2 separate regions of the Homo sapiens genome follow, and region 2 is linked to region 1. Evidence: promoter capture Hi-C in 16 types of primary human blood cells and fetal thymus (Javierre and others, 2016). All regions are on one chromosome and are shown on one strand. The core of a region is centred on a gene start or on the middle of the fragment in contact, and the rest is flanking DNA. Distances in the headings are between cores, read along the strand shown.

Region 1 (5,123 bases), core at 719-3,218:
CAGAATCTGGATGTGTTTTGAAGAAAGAGACAAGGGATATTCTTGATGAATTGGATGTAGGATAGGGGAGAAAGAGAGGAGTCAAGGATGAATCCAAGAAGTGTTCTGTTTTAGGCCACAAGGACGAAATTGTCATCAACTAACTAACATGGGGAAGGTTGTGGGTACAGTGGGATAGGTAGGGAAAATCAGTTTAGTAGTGGACGTGTGAGTTAGAGAAGTATTTTAGATATTCAAGTGAAAATGATGAGTACGCTATTGGATATGCAGGTTTGGAGTTCAGGACAGAGGACTGGACTGGAGATATTCATTTGGGAGTTATCAGTGTGTGGGTAGTATTTAAAGCCATGGAACCACATGAGATCTCCAACGGAGTAAGTAGAGACAGAGATGAAAACAACAGCAACGACTGAGCCCCAGAGTAATTAGAAGTTAAAAGGGGCTAAGGACTGCAATGAATGTGCATGACAAGATCCATGTATTGCCATCAAAGTGAGTGACTGTTTCTAGGAGGGTAGAGGTCAAGATGCCTGAAGGAGGAGAGAAGTTTAATGACCTATGATGGTGGAGTTTTGGAAAGATTATTATCTATGCATTGAACATGCTCAGAAAAGAGAGGAGAAGTATTGGGGAGGATGCCAATGGGCTGAGAACTGATGTTGTTGAAAAAGGTGGTGAACAATGTTGGGCAGGGGTATTACAGGACCAACATGTTTGTATGCCTGTTGTGCAGAAACAGACCAATACACCAAGACAGCAGGCTTTGCAGCAGAGAGAGGGTTTGATGACAGCAGGGAGGCCGAGTGAGCAGATGGGAGAAGACCCTCAAATCCATCTCCCCGAAGAGTTCTAGGCTGAGGTTTTCAAGGGGATTATGGGGGGTGAGGGGCTGAAAAACTATAGTCATTGATTGGTTGGGGAAAGGGGGATGAAATCATCAGGATGTAGAAACTGCATTCTTCAGTGAGTCAGCTTCTCGTGGGGTCCTTCAGACCAGCTGGCGTCAGTAGTTTCATCAGTATGCATGACCTACAAGAATATCTCAAATGGAAAGCAACATTTCACAATGTTCAGTTGTTATCTGTGGAGCAGTGAAGGGGGACTCTAATCTTGTGACAGGGTCTGTGTGATTCTGGAGCAATAGGTAGCAAAACACTATGAGGAAGGATCAGAGAACAGCTGACCCCATGACTAACACTGAGTATGTGCAAGCTTGGCTTATTTTTGTTTCTCTCCCTCCCTTCTCTTCTGATTAATTGTATAAAGTTTCTAGGGACAGTTTCAGGGGTGATAGATGATGATGGTACGAGATTTGCAGTAGAAGGGAAGGAGAAGGTTCTGGAAGGGGAAAAGAGGACCAGCAGGGTCCCTCCATCACCTCCAGGTCTGCAGGAGGTGGCAGGAGGGCCTGGAATGAAAAACAGCCAGTGGCTGGGCGCAGTGGCTCACGCCTGTAATCCCAGCACTTTGGGGGGCTGAGACGGGCAGATCACGAGGTCAAGAGATTGAGACCATCCTGGTCAACATGGTGAAACCCCGTCTCCACTAAAAATACAAAAATTAGCTGGGTGTGGTGGTGTGTGCCTGTAATCCCAGCTACTTGGGAGGCTGAGGTAGGAGAACCACTTGAACCCGGGAGGTGGAGGTTGCAGTGAGCTGAGACCGCACCACTGCACTCCAGCCTGGCTACAGAGGGAGACTCCATCTCAAAAAAAGAAAAAGAAAAACAGCCAGCGCATGAGAGAAGATGTGAGCATCGTCCTCAGGGAAGAGTCAGTTTTTGTCAGAACAAGGAGGGACTATTTGGAAGTTAGTTTGGGATGTGAGGCGTTTTGCTATTAGTGGATCAGGCTGATGGCACCGTGGAGGGGTTTCAGGAGTCAAGAACAGGTGGGAGAAAGTTTCCCAGTGCAGGTTGTGCAAGCCTCCTGGCCCGGAGAGTGTGGGTGTGACGAGTGGCTTGAGAGACAGGGATGAAGAGCATGAATGCGAATGTACAGCACTGAGCTCGCGTCTGCCACATGGTAAGCTCTTAGAAGACCTCAGCTTCTTATTCATTTTGTCACAAATCGATTAATTACTGAGCTGAAGGACATATTAGAAAACGGTCAATAGCAATACTTCTAACTTCCAATCTGTACTTACGCTTGGCATTCAATCGATGTTATCAAAACCTGTGCCAGCTCCAAGGAAGAGAGAACACTGTTTTCTGATTTAGTTGCTTCCTGAAAGGAGCTGAGAGCTGTAAAACACAGGCAAGATTGGACTTTTCAATAATGCTTATATATTGACTTGCAGAAACAATATTAGAACTTTTTTAAAATGCACACATTATCTCCTTAGGGTAAGGGAAAAGGTTTTACCTTTTTATTTTTGCATCTCCCCTTTGAGTGAACATCATTCTTTTTTCTTTAACTCACAACTTTACAAGGTATTTGGAGAAATATAAGGGAGAGATAGTTTCTGTTTCTCACCTCTTTAAGCAATGTCCTCTTGTATACCAAATAATATCTTCCTGTGGTTAATGATATGAGAAACAGAATGCCTCTCCAGAAACCTTTTCACATCCCAGATTCAGAGTTCCTGAGGCCAGAATCTGATCTGACATATTTTACTACTTAGGTAAATCCTTAATCTCAAGAGTGATGAGAGTGAAGTCTTTTTATGTTTGTTTTTTAGAGATGGGCCTCTTTCTGTCGCCCAGGCTGGAGTGCAATGGTGTGATCATAGCTCACTGCAGCCTCAACCTCCTGAGCTCAAATAGTCCTCCTGCCTCAGCTTCCTGAGTTGCGACTACAGCCATGAACCACTGCATCCAGTTCAGGTTTTTTGTTTGTTTGTTGTTTTCCTTAAAAAACACTAGTGATTCTATTTTGATTCTGACAACTTTCATAAGGTCCAGGGACAAAATAAATGTGTTATCTCTTGGGAGGAGATGGATTTATAAGCCCATGGGCACCATTCAGAGGCCATATGCCCTGGAAGCACTGAGGAATGTGCTCAAAGCAAACCCTTGGGTCATCCTTGACTCTTCTTTTGCTCTCACATCCACATCCAATCTATGAGGAAATTAACTTAGCTCAGGTAGTTTAAAAATCCATCTGAATGTTGCGGCCAGGCATGGTGGCTCATGCCTGGAGTCCCAACTACTCAGGAGGTTGAGGCGGGAGGATTGCTTGAGCGCAGGAGCTCGAGGCTGCAGTGAGCTATGATCATGCCACTGCACTCCAGCCTGGGCAACAGAGCAAGGCTCAGGCTGGTCTTGAACTCCTGGCCTTTAGTGATCCTCTTGCCTTGTCCTCCCAAAGTGTTGGGATTACAGGCACGGGCCACTGAGCCCTGCCTAAAACGTTCAATGTCAGTGACTTGGAAGAATGTTCTGGTGGACGGGAAAGCCCCGGATGGAGAGAGGATTCAGGCATTTGAGAGGTCAGAGAGAAGCAAGGTATCCAAGGACAATGGAATTGGCTGCTTGTTGCTCAATTGAATTGAGGCTCTACATTAGGATAATGAAAAGCTGTAGGCAGTTAGGGAGCAATTGAAAGCCACTTGTGAAGGCCTGAGGGCCTCCAGGAATGGGGCCCATATTCACTCCATTCAGTGTAGAAAAAGCAGAAGACCAAACTATGGATTTAATAGGCTTGCCTAGCTTCAAAGATGATTATCATTACACAAAGATCAGAGCACTGGTTGGGAAAACATGGAGCTCTTGTGCACGGGATGGGGACATTTGGGTGGATGCCTCCAAATATTTTGAGCTCTCAAACTCTTCTAAGCCCTCAGAGCCTGCAGAGGTGGCTCATCCTTCCCTGTTATGATCTGAAACTACCCATATGGGCCAACACCACAGAGTTCTGTCCCCACGGGCCAAGGAGGGCTTCTCAGGATCCTCAACTTCTTGCCTGGTTGCCAGACCAATCACTAGAGGTAAGTCGCAACATCACCAAGCCAAGAATATTATGGCAACACTGATGAGCTAGAAAGAGACTGTACCTCCCTCAAACTGTGAAAAATTCACCCCCATGTACTAGAAGGAAGGAACTGGATTTTGAAGGCGCTTGATCAAGGAGGCAGGATAAAGGAGAATACAGGAATGTGAGGGCATTTTCTCAGGATATGGGACTTAATGCTTGGCAAAGACCCTAGAGGATGGTGCAGACTTGCTGCTTGGGTGGTTCAACAAGCCTGGAGATAGGTCCATGCTGAGCGGAGCTGAAACAGATTTTTAAAGGCTCAGGGAAGTGAACATGCTGGTATATTATGGCGATCAGAAGACCCATCAGAGGATTATTATGCCCAGGGAGGTCTGGAGAACACAGCATTCACCAAGCCATTGGGAAATTAGCTGAAGGCTTTCCTCTGCAGACCACAACTGGTGGTGTGAAAGGCTGTTGTGGAGTTGAATCCACAGAGAGTAGTGATGATGGGGTGAAACAGATGGGAATCTTGTGAGGATACTTCTCAATACATCTAATCAAAAGATAGCCAACACAGGCCAGGCGCAGTGGCTCCCACCTGTAATCCCAGCACTTTGGGAGGCCGAGGTGGGTGGATCACTTGAGGTCAGGAATTCAAGACTAGCCTGGCCAACATGGTGAAACCCTGTCTCTACTAAAAATACAAAAATCAGCTGGATGCGATGGTGTGCACCTGTGGTCCCAGCTACTTGGAGGCTGAGGCAGGAGAATCACTTGAACCCAGAAGGTAGAGGTTGCAGTGAGCTGAAGTTGTGCCACTTCACTCCAGCCTGGGAAACAGAGTGAGACCTTGTATTAAAAAAAAAAAAAATCCAACAAGGATGCCCAGGAGGCTGAGGGTGTTTGCTCTATCAAACATTTGCAATTCCTTGTCTAGTACCTGGAACCTGAGGCAGTTTTCAGACCTGGAATCCCCCAATAGAAAGGGTGGCCATGTTCCCAGGATGAAGGACCCAGCAACACCACACCAAGTCTATGGGTATAATTCCTTTTGTCCTTCCCCAAAAGACATTTATTCAAGTGACTCTACTCTGGGGAAAAACTCCCAGATGTTTTGAAGATTACTGGATGCCCTGCAGGGATGGATGGAGGTAGGCATTGAGGTGTGCAATGATTCAGATCTTCACTGGAGAAAGGACTTACCTG
Region 2 (5,603 bases), core at 727-3,226, 410 kb after region 1:
GATTGTTAAAAATATTCTGGCACCTCCTCCTCTCTCTTGCTCCCTCTCTCACTATGTGACACACCTGCTTCCCTTCTACCATGAGTAAAAGCTTCCTGAGGCTTCACTGGAAGCTGAGCAGATGCCGATACCATACGGCCTCCAGACCTATGAGCCAAATAAACCTCTTGTCTTTATAAATTACCAAGCCTCAGGTATTCCTTTATAACCATGCAAAACAGACAACCACAGGTCTCAAATATCATTTCATTTTGGGGGCTTACTTTGTGGTCCCAGTAACATGAAAGTGTCCCTAGTAAAAGGGAAAAATGAGCAGATGGACTTGTTTTAGTGGGACAGCTAGTTCCAAGCAGCTTTTGAGAGGAGGGAGGAAAGGGAGGGAGAGGTTGGAATGCGTGGAAAGGAAGAAGCCTAATTAAAAGCCCTTTGTATTTGAACTTGGGAGAAGGGTGCTCTAAAGTGAGCCAACAGGGTAAGTTTCCCCTCCTCCCAACTTGGCTGAGCATTAACCCTGCAAGTGGCTTTCAAAAATGTTTATGAGGCTGAGATTTTTCCATTCACTGTGACACCTACCACATCCTAAACAACATGATATGTTGTCATGATCTCACTTGATTCACCAACCATCCTATGAGACAAATGTTAATGGCCCATTCTCTGGCTTAGGACATGCAACCTGGGCAGGAACACTGGTTTGTCCAATGTGGTGCACGTGGTGAATTAGGCAGCCTGTCCTCCCACACAGCACAGCACAGTGACACTGGACACACCCAAAGGCCAAGGGCCATCTGGTCCAGAGTGATGCAAAAAGTGATCCCAGGCACCCTCCAGCATCAGCCCCAGTCATCATCCCCCAAGAAGGGGCGACAAGGAAGGCTCGGTTCTTATCCCCACTCTCATCAAGCTTTCATGGTCCCCGCTGAAAATAAAAAAGCAAGTTGCTAGCATTGGATGCCCTGAAATCAATAGCAAAAGAAAAGAGACCCTCTCTGTCTGCCAAGGAGCTGCAGCCAAGCCTCCTCCTCTGTCCTTCCTTCCACACCAGTCATGCCCCTGAATGGAAACCTGGACTAAAGTCTATGTCACTACACCCTCTGCAAATGTCCAAAGCTGCCTGCAGAGGCAGGGTTCCTCGTGAAGTTCCATGTTGGAAAACTCCCATTTGGGGGAGCAGTGTTAGACCCAGTTGAGCCACTTATAAGCTGTTGCATCAGGTATTTGATTAATATATGTTCTGCTTTAATCAGTAAACAACTTACATTTGTGTAGTACTTTAGAGTTAACAAAGGAGTTTTATTCCTCACCCCATTATATCCTCAAACAGTGATGACCATCAATATCCTGATTTTATAATTGAGGAAGCCAAGAGGTGGAATGGGCAGCCTTGTATCACCTATTCGAAAAGTGTCAAGGTCAAAATGGGAATCCACATATGCTGGCTTTTAAAAATTATTACTAGATTTTTCAAACATAAGAAGAGTAGAGAAAATAGATCATGCTCTCTCATGCCCATCACCTAGCTTGAATAGTTATTCATCGGTTTCCAGATTTACTTCGTCTATTTTTGTTTTGTCAGGATTGCTTTCCAGACATCCTATTATTTCACCCCCATGCATCTCTAAATGTAAGAACACCCATGCCTTCTGGCTGCAAAGCCCATGCTCTGCTCACTACTTCATAATGTCCCCGGGGAACTCACTGGCTTCACCTGCACCTGCTGGGGAGGGAAAAGCTGGATGAGATGAACTCTGAGGCCCTTCCTGTTCTGAAATTTCTGGATTCTGGTTTTTGTAACCAAAGCAACATTCACCACAATGGCTTCTGTGTGCTGTTCTCACCTCACCTTTTGTAGTCATTCCCCCTCCCATTGTTGACTCTAAGACTTTAGAGCTCATCAGCAGGTGAGCAGAGAAGCAAAGTTGGGGTGATTGACAGAAATCAGATCAGAGTTACCTGGTATAAAGAGACTGAGCACATCCTTCAGGTGTCGACAAAGTGGGATCCCCAAAACAGTTTGGAAAAGAATGGATGTGAAAAATTACAAACACACTACTGAAGTCATTATCTAAAGAAAATAAGAGCTTGATTGCTCTTTATTGTATTTATTGTATATTTTTATCTTGAATTTCTAGGAGCACCATAACACTTGCAGTATCTAGAGCCTCTAAAGGACCATCCTAGCTTCCATCAGTATAAAGAATTGAGAATTAACCAAGTCACTGATTAAGAAAATGGAATTCCAGCAGTGTGGTCAGGTCGAATTAAAGACCCTAGGTGTTCAGAAATTGGAGGAAGGATGTTCTAAGGCAAGCAGACAAAATAAGTTTCCCCTCCTGACAACTTGGCAGGGCATCAACCTTGCAAGTGGTTTTTTAAAGGTTTATGGAGCTTAGATGTTTCCATGTGCTGTGACACCTATCACATCATAAACAATGTGATGCACTGCCGTGATCTCACTTGATTCACCAACCATTCTAGAAGACAGGTATTAACAACCCCAAGTTGTGGATTAGAACATTCAGGTTGGATATGGTGGCTCATGCTTGTAATCCCAACATTTTGGGAGGCCAAGGTGGGAGGATCACTGGAGGCCAGAAGTTTGAGACCAGCTTGGGCAATATGGCAAGACCCCATCTTTACAAAGAGTAAGACAATTAGCTAGTTGTGGTGATGTGTGCCTGTAATCCCAGCTGTTGGGGAGGCTGAGGCAGGAGGATTGCTTGAGCCCAGGAAGTCAAAGTTACAATGAGATACGATCACACCACTGCATTTCAGCCTGGGCAACAGAGAAAGACTCTCTCTCTCTCTCTCTCAAAATAATAGTAACACTAATAAAGGCATTCAGCCTGAGAGATCAGTTGAATTCCAGAATATCCTGGGTATGTGTTGGGAATAGGGAAACTCAAGTGTGAGTATCAGGTGTTGTCACAGTTGCAAGACGGTAGCTAAGCCTGACTTGATCCTTACAGTCCCTGAGGCAAGTCCTCTGTCTGGGAAGCCACCTCAGTACCTCTATCCATCCTTACTACCTTTGGCAGGAGCATCTAAGAAGCTTCATTCATCCTGTGTGGGTACACTTGGGGCACTGCCCTTAGGGGCTTTGACCCAGAGTCCCCACGTCCAGGGCAGGGGCAAATTGAAAGCTCAGCTCAGTGCCTTGGCTGGCTGGGCTGGAAAGCGTGCTGCAAGCCTGAGCCTATTCCAGCCAATGGACTTTATACCACGCAGAGAATCCATACCAGACGCTGTCTTGAAGAATCCAGTCCCAGGGAGCAGTTTATTGATCTGGCAGATGATTAAAAGACAGCAGAGATGAGCTCAAGTGTTGCTTTGGTTTTTCCATCCTGAGAGTGAATCTGACATCTCCTTGGGGGATCATCAGCCCCGTCTGCTGCAGAAGAAGCAGATGACTCCTCCGTGCAGCCGAAGGTCACAGGAATGTTCGAGTCAACGTCTTCTGGCTCAATTCTGTTCGCAGCGAGACACCCAGGGGAGCGTCACGTTCGCCCCAGGTCTGGAGCATGCCAACGCCTTGCTCCAGATCATGTCTGTGCCAAGAGAAGTCCATGTGCATTCATCCCACAGGCTCGCCCTCTCCTCTCTCCTTATGGGATAAAGAGAATGATCACAGCACAGCCTGTAACGTTTTATGGCTGCTCAAAGAGAAAAGGGGGAAAAATAGCTTGCATACGTTGCAAAGAGAGCAGACCATTTTCAGCAATAGGGAAAAGGGATGGAATTTGGGCTGAAGTCAGCTGGAGTTGTCATTTGAAATAGACATCTCTGCTGTCAACCCTTGGATGACCTAAGCTGTGCAGCAGATGACTTGGACTTGTCACTAAGTAGATATGCTGTGGTTTTAGGAGAAATTACAGCAGGTGAAATGCTCAGGCAGCAGATTATTTACAAGCTGTTTCTAATGCGGGAGTTTCTACAGCAAGTGGTTTCATGGACAAAAGTATATATTAAATGGCTCGTGTAATTGCCCACATTGGCAGTGAAATATAACCGGGTTGGATTTCAGCAGGACACCTATAGCAATGAAGCATGCTTCAATCTGATTAAAAAGTGAACAGCTCCTTACTGGGACAAATTATACACTGCCCAGGCCAGCAAGAGGAGAACCTGAATAGCAAATGAATCTTGACAATTAGCTTCTTCAAAGCAAACTTCCCATTCATCCACTTCCACAGCTTCTGACACCCCTTTGGAGTGAGACGTGTATGTTCTCCTATAAGTCACAGCACACCAGCTCAGAGTTACCAAAGCTGATTCTGCTTTGGAAACCTTGAACAAAAAGAAGAAAAAGGAGAATATAAGGAGAAAGAAAGGGAGAAGGAGGAGGAGAAGGAGGAAGAAGGGGAGAAGGGGGAGAAGGAGGAGGAAGAATAGAAGGAAAAGAAGAAGGAGGAGAAAGAGAACAGGAGGAGGAGGAAGAGGAGGAGAGGGAGAAGAGGAGGAGGAGAACAGGAGAAGGAAAACAGGAGGAGGAGAACAGGAGGAGGAGGAAGAGGAGGAGGAGGATGGGGAGGAGGAGGAGGCAGCTCAAGAGCCTGCCATTCCTCAGTTCTTTTTCATAGAAAAACAGAAGGAATAAGAGAGAAGAAGAGGGAGAAGAGGAAGACCTTAAATCCCCTTCTTTCCTTAAAAATTTCTGCAAAACTTGGCCTGCAGTAAATATGCTCTGTCCCAGAAAAGCTCTGATCCACACAGTTAGATTGGCTGCACGGAAGGGAACTTCCCCAGACATTTTTATGGGGACCAGAGGATAGATAAGCTCCCTGCATGCTCCCCACCCCCAACTTCCCCAACCCTTGCACTGCTGGTTTTTGTCAAAGATAGTTGTAGTTACAGCTCATTAATCATCCGTCACCCAGACAGACTCTGACAAGAATGCTGATAGCATCAGGGCCCCCAGGGAGCAGACCACAGAGGCAGGACGAGGGGTGGGGGTGACGTTCTCTCCAGCCTGGCCCAAAAGGCCACCAGCCCCAGAGCCTGCCATTTCTCAGCTCTTTTTCACAGACTGAAAGCTCATGCCTGACTCAAGCTCAGATCAACTGGGCGAGATCGCAGACAATGGGTTCTTTGCCACCTGAATAGTAACAGCACTCCCAGGCCATCTAAAAGGTCGGCGTAATTAAAACAACCAGAAGCAGTTGGCGTCCTTTGTTAAAGGCATTCACTGGGGCTGGGCATGATGGCTCATACCGGTAATCACAGCACACTGGGAGGCTGAGGCGGGAGGATTGTTTGAGCCCCGGAGTTTGAGACCAGCCTGGGCAACATAGGGAGAACTCACCTCAAAATTTTACAAAAAGGCATTCACTGTGGCTGAATTGTACTCTGGGTCTGCAAATTAGTTTTCATTTATCATTACATCAGCAGTGTGATTCTGTTTCTGGATGCCAGCTGGAACCATCTGTGATTTAAATAGCGTGTATGCACACACACACTCATATATTCAGAGAAGGATGTACATCCTTTATATATTAACCCTAATTTCTGAACCCAACACTGGGACATCTGGTATGATAAGCAAAAGTAATATTGTTTTATCTGGGAAAAGTTTATATATCAAAGAAAAAATCAGTGGATAAAAA

Evidence for each region. The method cuts DNA at HindIII sites, captures the fragments that hold promoters and counts their contacts. A CHiCAGO score of 5 or more calls a contact.
Region 2: a fragment that was not itself captured here is called in contact with the fragment with the promoter of C10orf126 in region 1 in 1 of 17 cell types (endothelial precursors); the score reaches 5.4 in endothelial precursors.

What each region holds. Positions count from the first base shown.
Region 1 is chr10:28,844,440-28,849,562 of GRCh38, forward strand. C10orf126 (chromosome 10 open reading frame 126) reads left to right here and starts at 1,969. Exons shown (of 5, transcript NR_164114.1): 1 at 1,969-2,024; 2 at 2,680-2,824; 3 at 3,777-3,927. The HindIII fragment of the contact is 7,202 bases long and covers 1,211-5,123 here.
Region 2 is chr10:29,249,847-29,255,449 of GRCh38, forward strand. No RefSeq gene overlaps it. Among named protein-coding and RNA genes, the nearest start is that of LYZL1, 36 kb to the right of the region's middle. The HindIII fragment of the contact is 2,148 bases long and covers 903-3,050 here.